2 separate regions of the Homo sapiens genome follow, and region 1 is linked to region 2. The links are contacts of gene promoters, found by promoter capture Hi-C in human tissues and cell types (Jung and others, 2019). All regions are on one chromosome and are shown on one strand. The core of a region is centred on a gene start or on the middle of the fragment in contact, and the rest is flanking DNA. Distances in the headings are between cores, read along the strand shown.

Region 1 (7,579 bases), core at 1,386-3,885, 1.1 Mb after region 2:
CATTTTCGGCGGCGGGAGCGGCGCAGGCGGCCGAGCGGGACTGGCTGGGTCGGCTGGGCTGCTGGTGCGAGGAGCCGCGGGGCTGTGCTCGGCGGCCAAGGGGACAGCGCGTGGGTGGCCGAGGATGCTGCGGGGCGGTAGCTCCGGCGCCCCTAGCTGGTGACTGCTGCGCCGTGCCTCACACAGCCGAGGCGGGCTCGGCGCACAGTCGCTGCTCCGCGCGCGCGCCCGGCGGCGCTCCAGGTGCTGACAGCGCGAGAGAGCGCGGCCCTCAGGAGCAAGGCGGTGAGTCCCCGGCGTGCGCCCCGGACCGCGGCCCCCTCCTCATCCTCCGCCCCGTCCCTGTCCCGCTCCTCTTCGGACCCGCCCCGGCCGTAACTCTGTCCCCATCCAGGCCTCCTTCCCGGTTTGGGTCCCGGCCCCTCTCCGTTCCCACCCCGGTACCCGCCCCAGTTCACCGCCCCGGCCGGTCCGCGACCCCTTCCAGGTTCAGGTCGGGTTCTTGTCCCCGGCCCTTTTGCCAGCCCCGGCTCCCGGCGCCGCGCGTCCTCCCCATCCGCGTCCCACTGCAGGTTCCGGTCCCCGGCCCTGCCCAGGGCCCCGCCCTGGCCCCGCATCCCCGGCTTGGCCCTGCTGCGGGCGGCGGCGGCCGTTCCCGGGGACAGCTGTGGACCCCGGGAACCCGCGACAGGGGAGGTGGCTGACCCCGGGATCGCGGCGGGCGGGGAGGCCGGAGGCCCGGCGGGGCTGGCTTTGTCCGATTCCTCCTCTTCCTTCCACCCCCGCCTCTCCCGGCACCGCCCTGAGCGGACGCGCCTGTCATTCTCGCGGGCGGCGGGGGGCCGGGTCCCTCCCGAGAGCTGGCTCCGCTTTGCCTCCTTGGCGACCCCTTATTTTCAGTAACCAGATGCGAAACGTTTCAGGCGACCCTGTTCACCTAGGCTGGCGTTGCTCCAACTAAACTTGAAGCAGCCTCCGTCCTGGAATGCTTTTTCCATGTAAAATTGGGTGTACCCTTTTCCTTAAGAAAATTAAAATAAAGCGTAAAAGTAGTGAAATTAATGCGTGATGGAGTGGATGGTTTTATAACTTAACATTTGTAGGTCATTTCTAGGTATATTTGTATTAGAATTGTTGCTGCCTGTTACTGTTTTATTATTTAAATGAATTAAGAATTTACATATTAAGCGTTTGAAAAGGAATACTTACAAAAATGATGTTTTTTAAAAATGTGAGAACAAAAAATTTGAGATATACTATTTCAGGTGTTCTGTAAAAGGGCAGTTAGAGCTTTGATTCTTTGCATTAGTTAAATCCCAAGGCCTTTTTTTTTGGTACGGCATGACTAAGCCATTGATCAGAATCAGCTCGGAATACATTGCACTAGTTTAGTGAAAGACACTTTAGAAAACTGGAAGAACCTCCTGAAGTTATATTACAGACATGGCCTTGCTTCTTTCAGGGATTGTCAGCAAGCCTGTTATGGTGAGAAATTTGACCTATTGCTCTGTTTCCTAAATATTTGTAGGAATACAATGATACTAAGTATGAAGTATATTTCAACTTGTATGGAATTCTGTGTGGGAGGGTAGGCACTCTAAAGAGCCAGTGTCTCTCCAAGTCATCAAAGAATGCAGCATCATGTTGCAGTTGAGCCTGGCAGCCCTGTCTGGCACTGAGTGCTGTGGAGGACCCAGGTGGTAACCTCTAACCCTACTGCAGCCTTGGCATTGTCTTAGAGAAAAGCATCCAGACATGCACAGGACTCTGGACAGCGTTTATCTCCAGCAAGGGGGGAGGGAATGACACTGGGGAGAGGCACACAGTATCTTCAGTATTTCATAGCAAATAACTGCAGTCGTTTAAACTTACACATTTTTTTTTTTTTTGAGATGGAGTCTCGCTCTGTCGCCCGGGCTGGAGTGTAGTGGCGCGATCTCGGCTCACTGCAAGCTCCGCCTCCCGGGTTCACGCCATTCTCCTGCCTCAACCTACTGAGTAGCTGGGACCACAGGCGCCCGCCACCACGCCCGGTTAATTTTTTGTATTTTTAGTAGAGATGGGGTTTCAACATGTTAGCCAGGTTGGTCTTGATCTCCTGACCTCGTGATCCGCCCACCTCGGCCTCCCAAAGTGCTGGGATTACAGGCGTGAGCCACCGCACCTGGCCCAAATTTATACATTTTTAAAATTTATACATTCTTAGGCATGTTTCTCAATGTTGGAAAAAAGTCAATGTGTAACTTTCTGTATAGGGCCATAAATTATCTTAAAACATACTTGTATAAAAAGAAACCTAGGATAGAAAAATCAAAAGTTGAGTGAAATGTATGATTAGTATCACCTGAAAACATTCTTTGTAGATAAGTGGAATGTTAGAAACCAGTATTTTATTTTTATTTATTTAGAGATGAGTCTCACTGTGTGGCTCAGGCTAGAGTGCAGTGGTGTGATCCCCGCTCACTGCAACCTCCGCCTCCCAGGTTCCAGTGATTCTCCTGCCTCAGCCTCCCTAGTAGCTGGGATTACAGGTGCCCACTACCACACCAGGCTGATTTTTTGTATTTTTAGTAGAGACGGGGCTTCACCATGTTGGCCAGGCTGGTCTCAAACTGCTGACCTCAGGCGATCCACCCGCCTCAGCCTCCCAAAGTGCTAGGGTTACAGGTGTGAGCCATTGCACCTGGGCTGAAACCAGTATTTTATGTAGCAAAGAAATGATCAGTAATATACTCAAGACGAGAGTATTTGGGAAGATTTAAGTGTCAAATTTCAGGGCATAGAATAAAAGTGACAAGCACATTAAGATTGCAAATACTGGTCTTAAATGTCTGTTGGGAACCAACTGAATGGCAGGTACTGTGCTGAGTAGTCAGCGATACCTTGATAAAAGAGCCACTGTTGGCCGGGCGTGGTCATGCCTGTAATCTTAACTCTTTGGGAGGCTGAGGCTGCAGATCGCCCCTAGCTCTTTGGGAGGCCGAGGCAGGTGGATCACCTGAGGTCAGGAGTTTAAGACCAGCCTGGCCAACATGGTGAAACCCCGTCCCTACCAAAAATACAAAAATTAGCCAGGTGTGGTGGTGCACACCTGTAATTCCAGCTACTCATGAGGCTGAGGAAGGAGAATCGCTTGAACCGGGAAGTGGAGGTTGTAGTGAGCCGAGATCACGTCACTGCAGTCCAGCCAGACTCCGTCTCAAAACAAACAAAAAGAGCCGCTGTCAGCCGTGCAGTGGCTCACTCCTGTAATCCCAGCACTTTGGGAGGCCAAGATGGACCGATCACCTGAGGTCAGGAGTTTGAGACCCGCCTGGACAACATGGTGAAACCCTGTCTCTACTAAAAATACAAAAAAAACCAAAACCGGGTGTGGTGGCGGGTGCCTCTAATCGCAGCTACTCAGAAGGCTGAGGCTGGAGAATCGCTTGAACTGGGGAGGCAGAGGTTGCAGTGAGCCGAGATCACGCCATTGCACTCCAGCCTGGGCAACAAGAGCAAAACTCTGCCTCAAAAAAAATAAAACCAAAAAACAAAAAAACTCTGTCCTCTAGGAGCTCACAGGCTGGCATGGGCAGGTACCACAGACCAGGTTAAAGGCTGTGGAGTGCACTGAGGAGGCGATTCTTCACAAAAGAAAAGTACCAATCAGCCAGTGTCAGGGGGTCAGGGGTGGGATTGGGATTGGGGTTCCTGCTTGGAGGAAATAAATCCTGAGGTTGTGCTGCTGTAAAGGGGCATGTTGGGAAGGGGACATGGGAGTGAGTGTGGAAAGACGAGGTTAGGAAAGGCCTTGAATGACTTCTTAGAAGTCTGCTTTCATTCTGAGGTTTACAAAGGAGGGTTGGAAGATTTTTTTTTTTTTTGAGATGGAGTCTTGCTCTGTCACCCAGGCTGGAACGCAGTGGCACGACCTCTGCTCACTGCAGCCTCTACCTCCCAGGTTCAAGTGATTCTCCTGCCTCAGCCTCCCGAGTAGCTGGGACTACAGGTGCGTGCCACCACATCCGGCTAATTTTTTGTATTTTTAGTAGAGTCGGGGTTTCACCACGTTAGCCAGGATGGTCTCCATCTCCTGACCTCGTGATCCGCCCGCCTTGGCCTCTCAAAGTGCTGGGATTACAGGCGTGAGCCACCGCGCCTGGCCGGAGGGTTGGAAGATTCTGAGGAGCCAGTTGCCACTTTAGAAAGAGCATAGGCAGTGGTGGGGCAGGTGCTGTGAACTGGGATGAGGTTAATTAGGAAGCCATTAACCCCAACTCGGCAAGCCTCAGGATTAGGGCAGTGACAGAAGGAACAGAGAAGCTAGGTGGGGGCAGGGGCTGGGCTGTAAGGGTTATAGTGGAGCTGATTTGGGGCTGACTGGATTGGGGTAAATGAGGAGCTGCAGGGAGGACTCCCCAGAATGATCCTGTGAAAACCTGAGTCACTCCTCTGTTAAAGCTTTTGTCAGTGTCCTCTGAGCACCCCACCCTGTCTCTTTTCATCTTCCTGCTCTGGCCCTACTCAAGCACTTCCAGGTGCATCTGGAGTTCTGAACCAAACCCATTCTTGTAGTGATTAGCATTTCTTCACTTCCCCACATACTCCTTAGCCTCTGCCCTGATTTTTCTCCTTAGCACACCTCACTATCTTAAATGCTGTATTATTATTATTTTTTTTTTATTATTACTTTTTGAGACGGAGTCTCGCTCTGTCACCCAGGATGGAGTGCAGTGGCATGATCTCAGCTCACTGCATCCTCTGCCTCCCGGGTTCAAGCCATTCTCCTGCCTCAGCCTCCCAAGTAGTTGGGACTACAGGCATGTGCCACCACACCTAGCTAATTTTTGTATTTTTAGTAGAGACAGGATTTCACCATGTTGGCCAGGCTGGTCTCGAACTCTTGACCTTAAGTGATCCACCTGCCTCAGCCTCCCAAAGTGCTGGGATTACAGGCCTGAGCCACCGTGCCTGGCCAATACTGTATTATTTTAATCATTTTAAAATTTTTATTGTTTGTCTCCACTTAACATTCATAACCTCCACAAGGATGGGGAGTTTTGTCTCTTGTATTCAGTGTCGGTGCTTGGCGTGTAATAGGAACTTAGTAAATGTTTGTTGAAGGAATGCATCTAGAATGATCCTCATCTCTAATTTGGGTGATTCACTGGCTGGTGACACTCATCCAAGGAGGGAAAATGGGAGAAGGATGAGATTATGAGTTTGTTTTTGGACATGTTAAATCTGAAGTGCTTGTGGGGCAGCCAAGTGGACTAGTGGGCAGTTAGAGATACATCTTTGGAGCTCAAGACAGAGGCTGAGGCTGGAGGTAAAGATTCCAGAGACTGCATCATATCGTTGAGCCAGTCGGGTGTGATGTCCATCTGGTAGAGATGGGGAGTGGGTCTAAGAGGAGAGGGTCCTGGGAAACCAAGAGAAGAGGAGGGAGGAGATCAGTAGCAAATTGGCTAAGAAGTCAGTGATGGGTTGGACTGAGAAGTCTCTATGGATTTTGCTTCTAGGAGGTTACTAATGACCTTTAACTTTTTTTTTTTTAAATATAGTTTATGTAGAGACGGGGGTCTCACTGTGTTTCCCAGGCTGGTCTCGAATTCCTGGGCTCAAGCCATCTGCCTGCCGTGGCCTCCCAAAGTGTCGGGATTACAGGTTTGAGCCACTGCACCCGGCCTGTTGCCTGTTTCCTGAGAATATTACCTCTTAAGGATGGAGGCTATTTCGAGATGATCTTCATTCGTTCTCCCAAGGCATCCTTTGTGGCGTTGTACTCTGTAGCCTCCTAGTTAGTATACTCATGGATCAGAAATGAATTATGATTTTTTTTTAGTTTTAACTAATTTTTGGAGGCAGATGAAAGCAGTTTGCATATATGCTTTTTGAATTTGAAAAGTGCTATCTGAACTTAAAGCAACGGATATGGAGCAAACATGTTAAGCTGAGTTACGTGCATACGTGAACTGAGTTACTTCCTTGGTTCTAAAATATCTGTTACCTTCATTTAAACCATAGATTGTTCCCTGACTTCAGTTGCATAACATAAATTTATGTTCAGGCTTCTCTGAAGTTCACTATGCTGCTACTAAAACTGATCAGAGTGATGTTTGCACTGTTCCAGAGAAAATAGGTACTGTAAACCCTGCGGATGTCATATGTGTCTGTAGTTTCAGTTACTCCGAAGGCTGAGGTGGGAGAATCAGTTGAGCCCAGGAGTTCAAACTAGCTTGGGCAATATAGTGAGACCTTGTTTCTTAAAAAAATAAAAGGCTGTGCTTGGTGGCTAATGTCTGTAATCCCAGCACTTTGGGAGGCTGAGGAGGGCGGATCACCTGAGGTCAGGAGTTTGAGACCAGCCTGGCCAACATGGGTGAAACCTTGTCTCTACTAAAAATATAAAATTAGCCGCGTGTGGTAGTATGCTTCTGTAGTCCCGGGTATTTGGGAAGCTGAGGTAGGAGAATCACTTGAACCCGGGAGGCGGAGGTTGCAGTGAGCCAGATCGAGCCACGGCACTCCAGCCTGGGCGACAGAGTGAGACTCCCATCTCAAAAAGAAAAAAAAAAAGTAAAATAGGTACTGTTACTGAGATTCTACTGTTGAGGAATTTGAGGGTGAGAGAGGGGAAGTTTCAGAAACCAAAGTTACACAGCTGTGAAGTCAAGATTCTAACTCAGTTTTTTTGCTTCGCGGTATAAGCTTTGAATCACCTTGCAGTACTTAAAGCTGCAGCTTCAAGTGAATCATGATAATGCTGTTTAATCCTATCATTACTTTTTCTTGGGGAAACCTCGCGCCACTTCAATTTTTTTCAAAGATGTACCATTTTAACCATTTAAAAGTTCACAATTCAGTAGTGTTAAGGATATGCACATCGTTGTTCCACATTTCTGGAACTCTTTCATCTGGCAGCGCTGAGACTGTAGCCCCCAAATACTGATATCTCCTCCTCCCTCGCCCTCCCCCGGTAACCATCTTTTCTACTTTGTTTCTATGATTTTGACTACTTTCAATACTTTATTTTTTATTTTTTTTGAGATGGAGTTTCACTCTTGTTGCCCAGGCTGGAGTGCAGTGGCACGATCTCAGCTCACTGCAACCTCTGCCTCCCGAGTTCAAACAATTCTCCTGCTTTAATTTCCTGAGTATCTGGGATTACAGTCATGGGCCACCATGCCGGGCTAATTTTGTATTTTTAGTAGAGATGGGTTTCTCCATGTTGGTCAGGCTGGTCTTGAACTCCTGACCTCAGGTGATCACCCCCCATCGGCCTCCCAAAGTGTTGGGATTACAGGCGTGAGCCACCGTGCCTGGCCTTGCCTGTCTTTTTCATCTGAGCCATTCTAGCGGGGTATAGTGGCATCTTGTTAGTTTTAATGTGCATTTCACTGATGACTCATAATGGTGAGCGCTTACATGCTTGTCGGTCTTTGTATGCCTGGATTTGTAAAGTGTCTGTTCAAGACTTTTGCCCATTTAAAAAATTGGATTGTTTGTATTTTTAAGTTCCTTACATATTTATTTATTTATTTATTTTTGAGATGGAGTCTCCTCTGTTGCCCAGGCTTGAGTGCAGTGGCGCGAT
Region 2 (7,198 bases), core at 104-2,603:
CCTGGAGCCTCTTCCTGGGCTGTTCAGAGGCATGATCCAGACTCAGACCTACCTGGTTCCTGCACCGCGATCACCTAGTTCCGGGGATGTGGGTATATCACAGTCCCTGGCCGAGCCTCAGCTTTATCTGTAAGAAAGGGGAGGGGTGGACGACGGCTGTGCGGGCGGGGTGAGCCTGGGGCGTGGCACCAGCCCTCTATCCAAACATGTTTGCTTACACGTTAGCTCCTGGGAGGAGATAGGAGGGTGAAAACAACCTGGAGACCGGTGTGCACCGCACTGCACAGTCTGCCATCCTCTTCAGGTCCCATACCTCTCTTGATCTCCCCGACTACTAGATGAAGCGGGTACTGCCATCCCACTTTCCAGCAGGGCACAAGCTTCTCCAATTCTCCAAGGTCAGCAAGCCACGGCAGAGCCAGGCCTAGAACTCAGGTCCCCTGCGTCTCAGTTTGGGCTCATTCCAGAATTGGTGGGGACCCCCAACCCACAGGCAATCGAGCTTAGGCCCTGACCCTGCCCTCTGAGTCCCCAGCCCCGACCTGAGCCTAGGCGTCTGACCTCTGGCTCCGTCCCAACCTCCCTACTGCCTTCTTTCAAGGGTAAGCCCTTGGTCACAAGGGGCCTGGGACAGAAGGCAGGCCGCGTCCACACACACTGACTGGGTCACTATCACTGGCAGTAACTGAGTTAAAGAGAGCGGCGCGGTGCGGGTAGGCTGTGGCCCGTGGGCAACACCGTGACTGGAGCCCCTTCCCCAAGCCTGGGCCTCCGGGCCCCAGATATGCCCTGTGCCGGCACGCGTGGGGCGCCGGGCGGGTTACGTAAAGTTCGGCCTCCCCACGTCACCGGGCAGAGTCACGGCCGCGGCTCGTGAATAAGGGGGTTGGGCCATCGAAGGCAGCGCCGCGCCCGGGGCCACCCGCCACCTCCTACCCGTCCCCTCCCGGCCTGCACGGCCAGACGTCGGGCGGCGGAGGGTCGCGGGGCCGAGCGGGGCGTCCGCGCGCAGGTGGCCGGCGCAGCGAGGGCTGCACCTGCGTGCGCGTGTGCCGGAGGAGGAGGGGGCGGCGGCCGCGGGCGCGGCGCGGGGGACGGGGACTCACCATGGGGGGCGCGGGGGCCACAGGCCGGGCGTCCCCGCCCCTGCCGCGGACCGGAGCGCGCGCTGTCCCCCGCGGGCGAGCGGGCAAAGGTCCCACGACGGACGCACGGGAGGGAGCCACCGCCGCCCGCGCCCGCCGCAGCCGCGCTCTGAGCCGCCGCGGCCGGATCGCAGGGCGGCGGTGCCGTCGCCGGCGGCGGGCGGCGGGCGGCGGGCGGCGGGCGGCGCAGTGCGGCCCCGGCCAGGCAGGACAGCGGGACCGTCCGCCGCCGCCATTGGCCCGCGCCGCCGGCCCCCGCCACCACCCATTGGCCGCCGCGCTGCACCATTGTTACGTCACTGGCCGGCGGGCGGGGCGCACCGCTGGACCCGCGGAAAACTTCGGAGAAACTTGAGGGAGCGCCGGCGGGGAGAACGGAGAGGAGGGGCGGGGCCGTGGCGAAAGGGGCGGGGCGTTGATGGGCGGGGGCGGGGCTCCCGGAACCCGAGCTGCGGGCGAAGAAAGGCTCCGAGCTCCGAGCTGCCCTAGCCCGGGAGGGCGCCGCTGCTCTGCGAACTCGGGCGCGCGCGTAGGTGGCCCGCCCTCCGCCGTGCGTGACTTTCCTCGTCGCGTCCAGCTCCCCTTTTCTTTGACCTTACGTGACCTTGGGAAAAACCTCCAGGCTGCTACCCCATCTGCACATGGGAGGGCCGGGGGTAGGAGCCGCGACCCCTAAGGGCTCCACCGCCTTCTGCCCGGCCAGGGTCGTGCCTGGCGCGCCCCCGCTCCAGCTGACCCGCGCAAGGGAGGGAGGGGCGGACGGATGGGGACAGCTGTTTAGGAGCGCGCACTGCGCCCATCTCGGCCTCAACACTCATGTTTCCACTTCGTTTCACGACCACCAGCCACAGTGGACACGATGATCCCCAGTTCACCCGCCAGCAAATCAGGGCTCAGAGAGGTGGCCTCAAAGAGAGGAGCGGCCAGGAGGGAAGCCGGGGGTTTGCCCTGCGGTTCTTCCCACATCTGGGCGGGATAGATTCGATTGGGCCTCGGCCACCCCCACCGTCTCCGTCGGGGGTTCCAAGGTTTGGGGTCATGACCTAGGGGGCTTAGGAGCCTGGGTCCATCTCAACTAATTTATGGCCTCACTCGCCCCCAGCGGCTGGGAATTCTAGGCCCATTTTACAGATGTGGACGCAGATCTGGAGAGGGGCAATGACTGCTCAACCCCCCACCCATCCTCCCAGACACGACCTTCCACCTGGAATCCCCCCACACACGTTCTCAGAGGCCAGGCAGCCGGGGTCTCATGGTGAAATCCCCACATTCCATGCAGGGGCTCTTTCTGGTTCCTTCCCTAGAATGCTGTCCCTGCCCTTCCAGTACTATCTCACCAGGGAGACCCTCCCACTCCCCCACTCCGCTCCAACCAAGCAAGGCCTCTGCCTCGCCCCGGTGGGAGGGGCCTCGTCCAGAGGGCACGCCCCTGCACACACAATCAGCCCTGTCCTGGCTTCTCTGTGTGCCCCAGCCAGTCAGTCTGGGTGGAAGTCTTACCTGGGCCCTCTCAACAGACCTAGGCAGGCCTCTGTCCCCAGCCCAACGAGCTCAATCCCTTAAGCACACACGCCACAGAGCAGTCCTGAGAGGCCAGGTGGACAGTACCATGAGGCAGACAAAGCTGTGAGGCCCAGAGAGGGTCAGGCCACCCCAGCCCAGGTAGGCACTCACATGTATCCTGCCCAGGCTGCCATGCATGGACCCACCAGGGGGATGACCAGACCCCACCAGCCCTGCCCCACCTCAGGGCGGGGGACGTTCCAGGCCACGCCATCTCTCCCAGGGAGTCCATGGCAACTGCCAAGCTTACAGCAGCCAGGTTGTCAGCAGGAGTAGGGGTATAGAGGGCACTGGGCCTGGCATCCGCACCCGCCTTTGCCTCAGCTCCACATGTCTCCTCCTGTATCTAGGCCTATCTCCCTAGGGCTTCTCCCATCTGCCGGTTCTGGATGCCTCTGAGTACGATGGTGGGGAGAGCAAAGTGAGTGAAGGTCCTGGAGTCAACAATCGGCCTTTGGGAGCCCAAACCCTGGGGGACATCTTGGGGAGATGGTGCCCATGTGGGCTGTCTGTGGCTCAAGGCTCCCCTGCTCTCTTGCCCTCTTCGAAGGCTGGAGTTGAGATACAGCCGTCTCCATGGCTACTGGTGGAATGAGGGTGAAAGGGCACCAGTGGATGCCAGGCTGTGCACTGGGCCTCAGGGCGGGTCTCTCTCCACCCCTTGATGTCTTCCCTGCCCCCGTGCCCTGACCTGCCCTCCTCACTGGGGATCCCAGAGGGTTTTTTTTTTTCCCAAGACAAAGTCTCATTCTGTCACCCAGACTGGAGTGCAGTGGTGCAATCTCAGCTCCCTGCAACCTCCACTTCCCAGGTTCAAGCAATTGTCATGCTGCAGCCTCCCAAGTAGCTGCAATTACAGGCATGCACCAGCACTCACAGCTAGTTTTTGTATTTTTAGTAGAGACGGGGTTTTGCCATGTTGGCCAGGCTGGTCTCGAACTCTTGGCCTCAAGTGATCTGCCTGCCCCAGAGACCTTTTTCTAAAAGCCAAGTCTGACCCTGTTTCTCTGCTGCCTAGAAGCTTCCTGTGGACATGGACATAGCCACAAAGTCCAGATGGGCAGAAAGAGGCATTTCTGGCAGAGGGCAAAGCAGGGGCCAAGGTCTGGAGTGTGACACAAAGGCTGCAGAGGCCACCTGACTGGCCAGGTCCCATGGGGCCTGGAATGCCCGGCAAGGATCCTGGATTTTCCCCTGAGGCCCAAGTGGAGGGGTTGGGAAGTGGTTTCACTAGTGAATTATTTTAGACACACATACAAAGAGCATCATGATGCCTGGGAGCCCGGGACCCAGTTGAAGGAGCAACACACGGCAGATCGGAAGCCCTGCGTGCCTGTCCCCTCCCTCCCCAGCCAGCCTCAGTGTGAGTCCGCGTGCGTCTTTCCCACTGTAAGTGCAAGTGGCAGCAGACATAGTAACACTCCCTGCCATGGGGCTCCACAGCACTGCCTCACCTCAGCCTCTTGCCTTTTTCTCCTGAGGTCACTTTTAGATCCAGCCCCAGGGGAACCCCCTGCTTTGGGTTGCAGCCGCCATCTCTGCTGCAGTGTCTTCTGATGAAAGCTGTCCCCTGTGGGCATGAGTGTGGACATGCTGCACCTCCTAAGGCAGCAGTGCCAAGGCTGATGGTGCCCTCCACGGTGGTTTCATGGCATCGCTGCTGCACTAGAGGCTGCCCAGGGACGTGTGAACAGCTGTGAAGGGGCAGGTTCCTCAGGGAGGGAGGATGGGCTGCGGGGAGGGTGGCTGGGGCAGGGGAATGGGCAGAGCATGACTTCCAAACACCTAGGAAGCCCCAGGTGGAGGGCGGAGGGGGGTCTTGCCATCTTGGGATAGGAGTTGACCTTTGACCCCATCATGCTCCTGCTGGGACCTGACCCAGGCACACTCCTCTTCCTCTGGGAGGGCTTGTCCCACCAGGGCAGGGGTCTGTGTGTGCCCAGGCAGGGAGCCACAGGCAGTAGGGGGAGGCTGGGGCTGCAAGCACAGAGGCCCCGGAAAGTGTGTGAGGACGCTGGGGAGTGGGAAGGGCCCTCGGAGGGGTGGTATGGCCGGCTTAGGTTTTCTCGACAACTCTAGTTGAGTATGCACTGCAGGGAGACGGAGAGGCCGCAGCCACTGAAGCCAACTGTGCTGGAGCAGGCGGAGGGCACCAGGGGTCCCTGGAGAGAAGTGCCGCCTCCTGCCAGGCCCCTGACCTATAGGTGAGGGTGTGAGCAGAAGAGGAGAATCTAGGAGGCCTCCCGGGTATTAGGGGAAAGCTGAGCACCTGGAAGATGGCAGAGCCAAGAGGTGTCCATGGCCCTGGAGATGGGGTCATGAGTATAAAGAGGGCGCTTGGAGTGTGAGGCACCAGGGATGGGAGGTGAGAGGCCCGAGGCCCCAGCCGGGGCTTCCAGGAAAGGAGGTGGGAGAGGGTCTTGGGGCCAAGAAGGCACAGGGCTTCCCGAAGCCAAGGTGTCCCAAAAATAAGGGAGCGGTCGGCTGGGACAGATTCAGATGTGGTGGCTCACACCTGTAATCCCAGAACTTTGGGAGTCCGAGGCGGACAGATCACCTGAGGTCAGGAGTTCAAGACCAGCCTGACCAACATGGTGAAACCCTGTCGCTACTAAAAACACAAAATTAGGCCTGGTGGTGCATGCCTGTAATCCCAGCTACTCGGTAGGCTGAGGCAGGAGAATCGCTTGAACCCAGGAGGCGGGAGGTTGCGGTAAACTGAGATCGCGCCATTGCATTCCAGCCCGGGCAACAAGAGCAAAACTCGGTCCATAGGTCACAGTGCCCTTTACAGAATGTCATGGGGTTAGGGGAGAAACCTGTTTGGAGAGAGTTCAGGAGCAAGCGGGGAGCGGGATAGAGCTGTGAGGACAGGAGAGGAAGGGGCAGGCTTAAAGAATGAAACGGTGGAGATAACACACGTGCACATGCATGTATGTGCACTCAGACACGTGGGTAGGCCCACACATGCATCTGTGCATCATGGGCGGCACGCTGTGTGTGCATGCGTGTGCGTGGGCAGCATGCTGCAGCCTGCATTTGTGTGTCCTGTGTGTCCATTATGTGTGCAGTGCGCTGATGGGCAAAAACGCTGACGATGCAGGCCAGCTGATAACCTGGAGGAGGCCGGCTGGAGTGGGGCCTGCCACACGTGAGGGGTACCCTGGGCTGGCGACATGGGCAGTTCTTCTTGGGGGGGGGCAGCATGTTGGGCACAGACACAGAGGAGGGCACAGGTAAAGGTGCTCGGAGACATCTGCTCTGGTGGCTTCTATTTTCAAGGCCATCTGCTGAGAATAGGAAGGGGTGGATGGTGGGGAGGGGGCTGGAGGAGAGGGCTTCATTTGCTGACTACACTGAGATCCTCTCTGACCTGAGCCCCTGCCACCCAGCCAGGCCTGCGGAGCCTGCCATCTGCGCAACTGGGATGGGACAGGTGGCCGCGGCCAGGAAGGCACCACAGGTGCAGGCAGGAGGGCAGGCAGCTTCCTCAGGGAGGGGCTGGCACCAGACATGCTGGATCCCGCCTAATCAGCCACCCACCAGTGGTGGGACTGGGCTGAGCACCAGTCACTTATCTGTGACATGGGTCAGGTGGATTTTGGGTGTCAGAGGGAAGGTGTTTCATGTGGCAAGACTGGCAAGGCCAGCATGCGGAGTGGCTAGGACCGGGTGAGAGCCTGGGGGTGTCCCAACACTTGCCCCACCTCATGCAGGTTCTGTCCTTCCACTGCCTGGCCAGACCAGACCAAAGCTCACCTGGCCTTTAAGACTGGCACCTGCACCAGGAGCCACTACTACTCCCTCCTACGGTGGCAGGCTGGGCTCTGCCCCACCGCGTCTGCAGCCCCATCAGCTGGTCTCTCAAGGCTCAGCTTTGGGATGCCAGTACAGACCAAAGACAGGACAAAACCAGTGGAGACAAGGGACATCCTGGGAGCCGAAGGGTCCAGCATGTATAGCCAAGGAGTGGCGTCTCAAGTGTGCAGGGAGCCCCCAACATAGCTGGAAGATCGGCCCGGGGGAAGATGGGCGAGGGCACCATAGGTTATCCACATGCTGGCCAACAGACACGTGGAGATAGACATTCAGCTTTGCCAGGAATCAGCACGTGTACAGGCTCCTGGCGAAAACTGAGTAGACTGGGAAAGCCCGTGCTGGCCGGGTTAGGACTCAGGCACTTGCCCCACCAGCAGGGAAAACTCACATGCTTGGGGGCCCGGCAGATCCTTCTGTAGGCATCTTATCACAGGTGAATACCTGCCTGTGTACTAAGTTACATATACAATACAATGCTCACTGCTGTGGATTTTGTTCTCTTGCTTTTTTTTTTTTTTTTTTTTTTGAGACAGGGTCTTGCTCTGTTGCCCAGGCTGGAGTGCAGTGGTGCAATCATAGCTCACTGCAGCCTCACTCTCCTGGGCTCAAGTGATCCTCTCACCTCAGCCTCCCAGGTAGCTGGGACTATAGGCACATGGCCACCACACACA

What was found. Contacts are between HindIII fragments. The study calls those that stand out against the background at their distance.
Region 1: a fragment that was not itself captured here is called in contact with the fragment with the promoter of ANKRD9 in region 2 in 1 of the 25 tissues and cell types used here (dorsolateral prefrontal cortex).

The regions. Positions count from the first base shown.
Region 1 is chr14:103,629,210-103,636,788 of GRCh38, forward strand. It overlaps KLC1 (kinesin light chain 1), which reads left to right and starts at 2. Exons shown (of 17, transcript NM_001394837.1): 1 at 2-285. RefSeq lists silencers at 1-219, 270-389, 480-529, 570-749. The HindIII fragment of the contact is 5,866 bases long and covers 1-5,568 here.
Region 2 is chr14:102,508,423-102,515,620 of GRCh38, forward strand. It overlaps ANKRD9 (ankyrin repeat domain 9), which reads right to left and starts at 1,354. Exons shown (of 4, transcript NM_152326.4): 1 at 1,107-1,354; 2 at 219-424; 3 at 53-127. LOC105370679 (a long non-coding RNA gene) reads left to right here and starts at 1,621. Exons shown (of 4, transcript XR_007064352.1): 1 at 1,621-3,129; 2 at 3,956-4,392; 3 at 4,809-4,912; 4 at 5,780-5,932. RefSeq lists silencers at 142-303, 1,298-1,737, 1,898-1,947 and enhancers at 1,428-2,071, 2,072-2,717, 2,718-3,361. The HindIII fragment of the contact is 3,197 bases long and covers 145-3,341 here.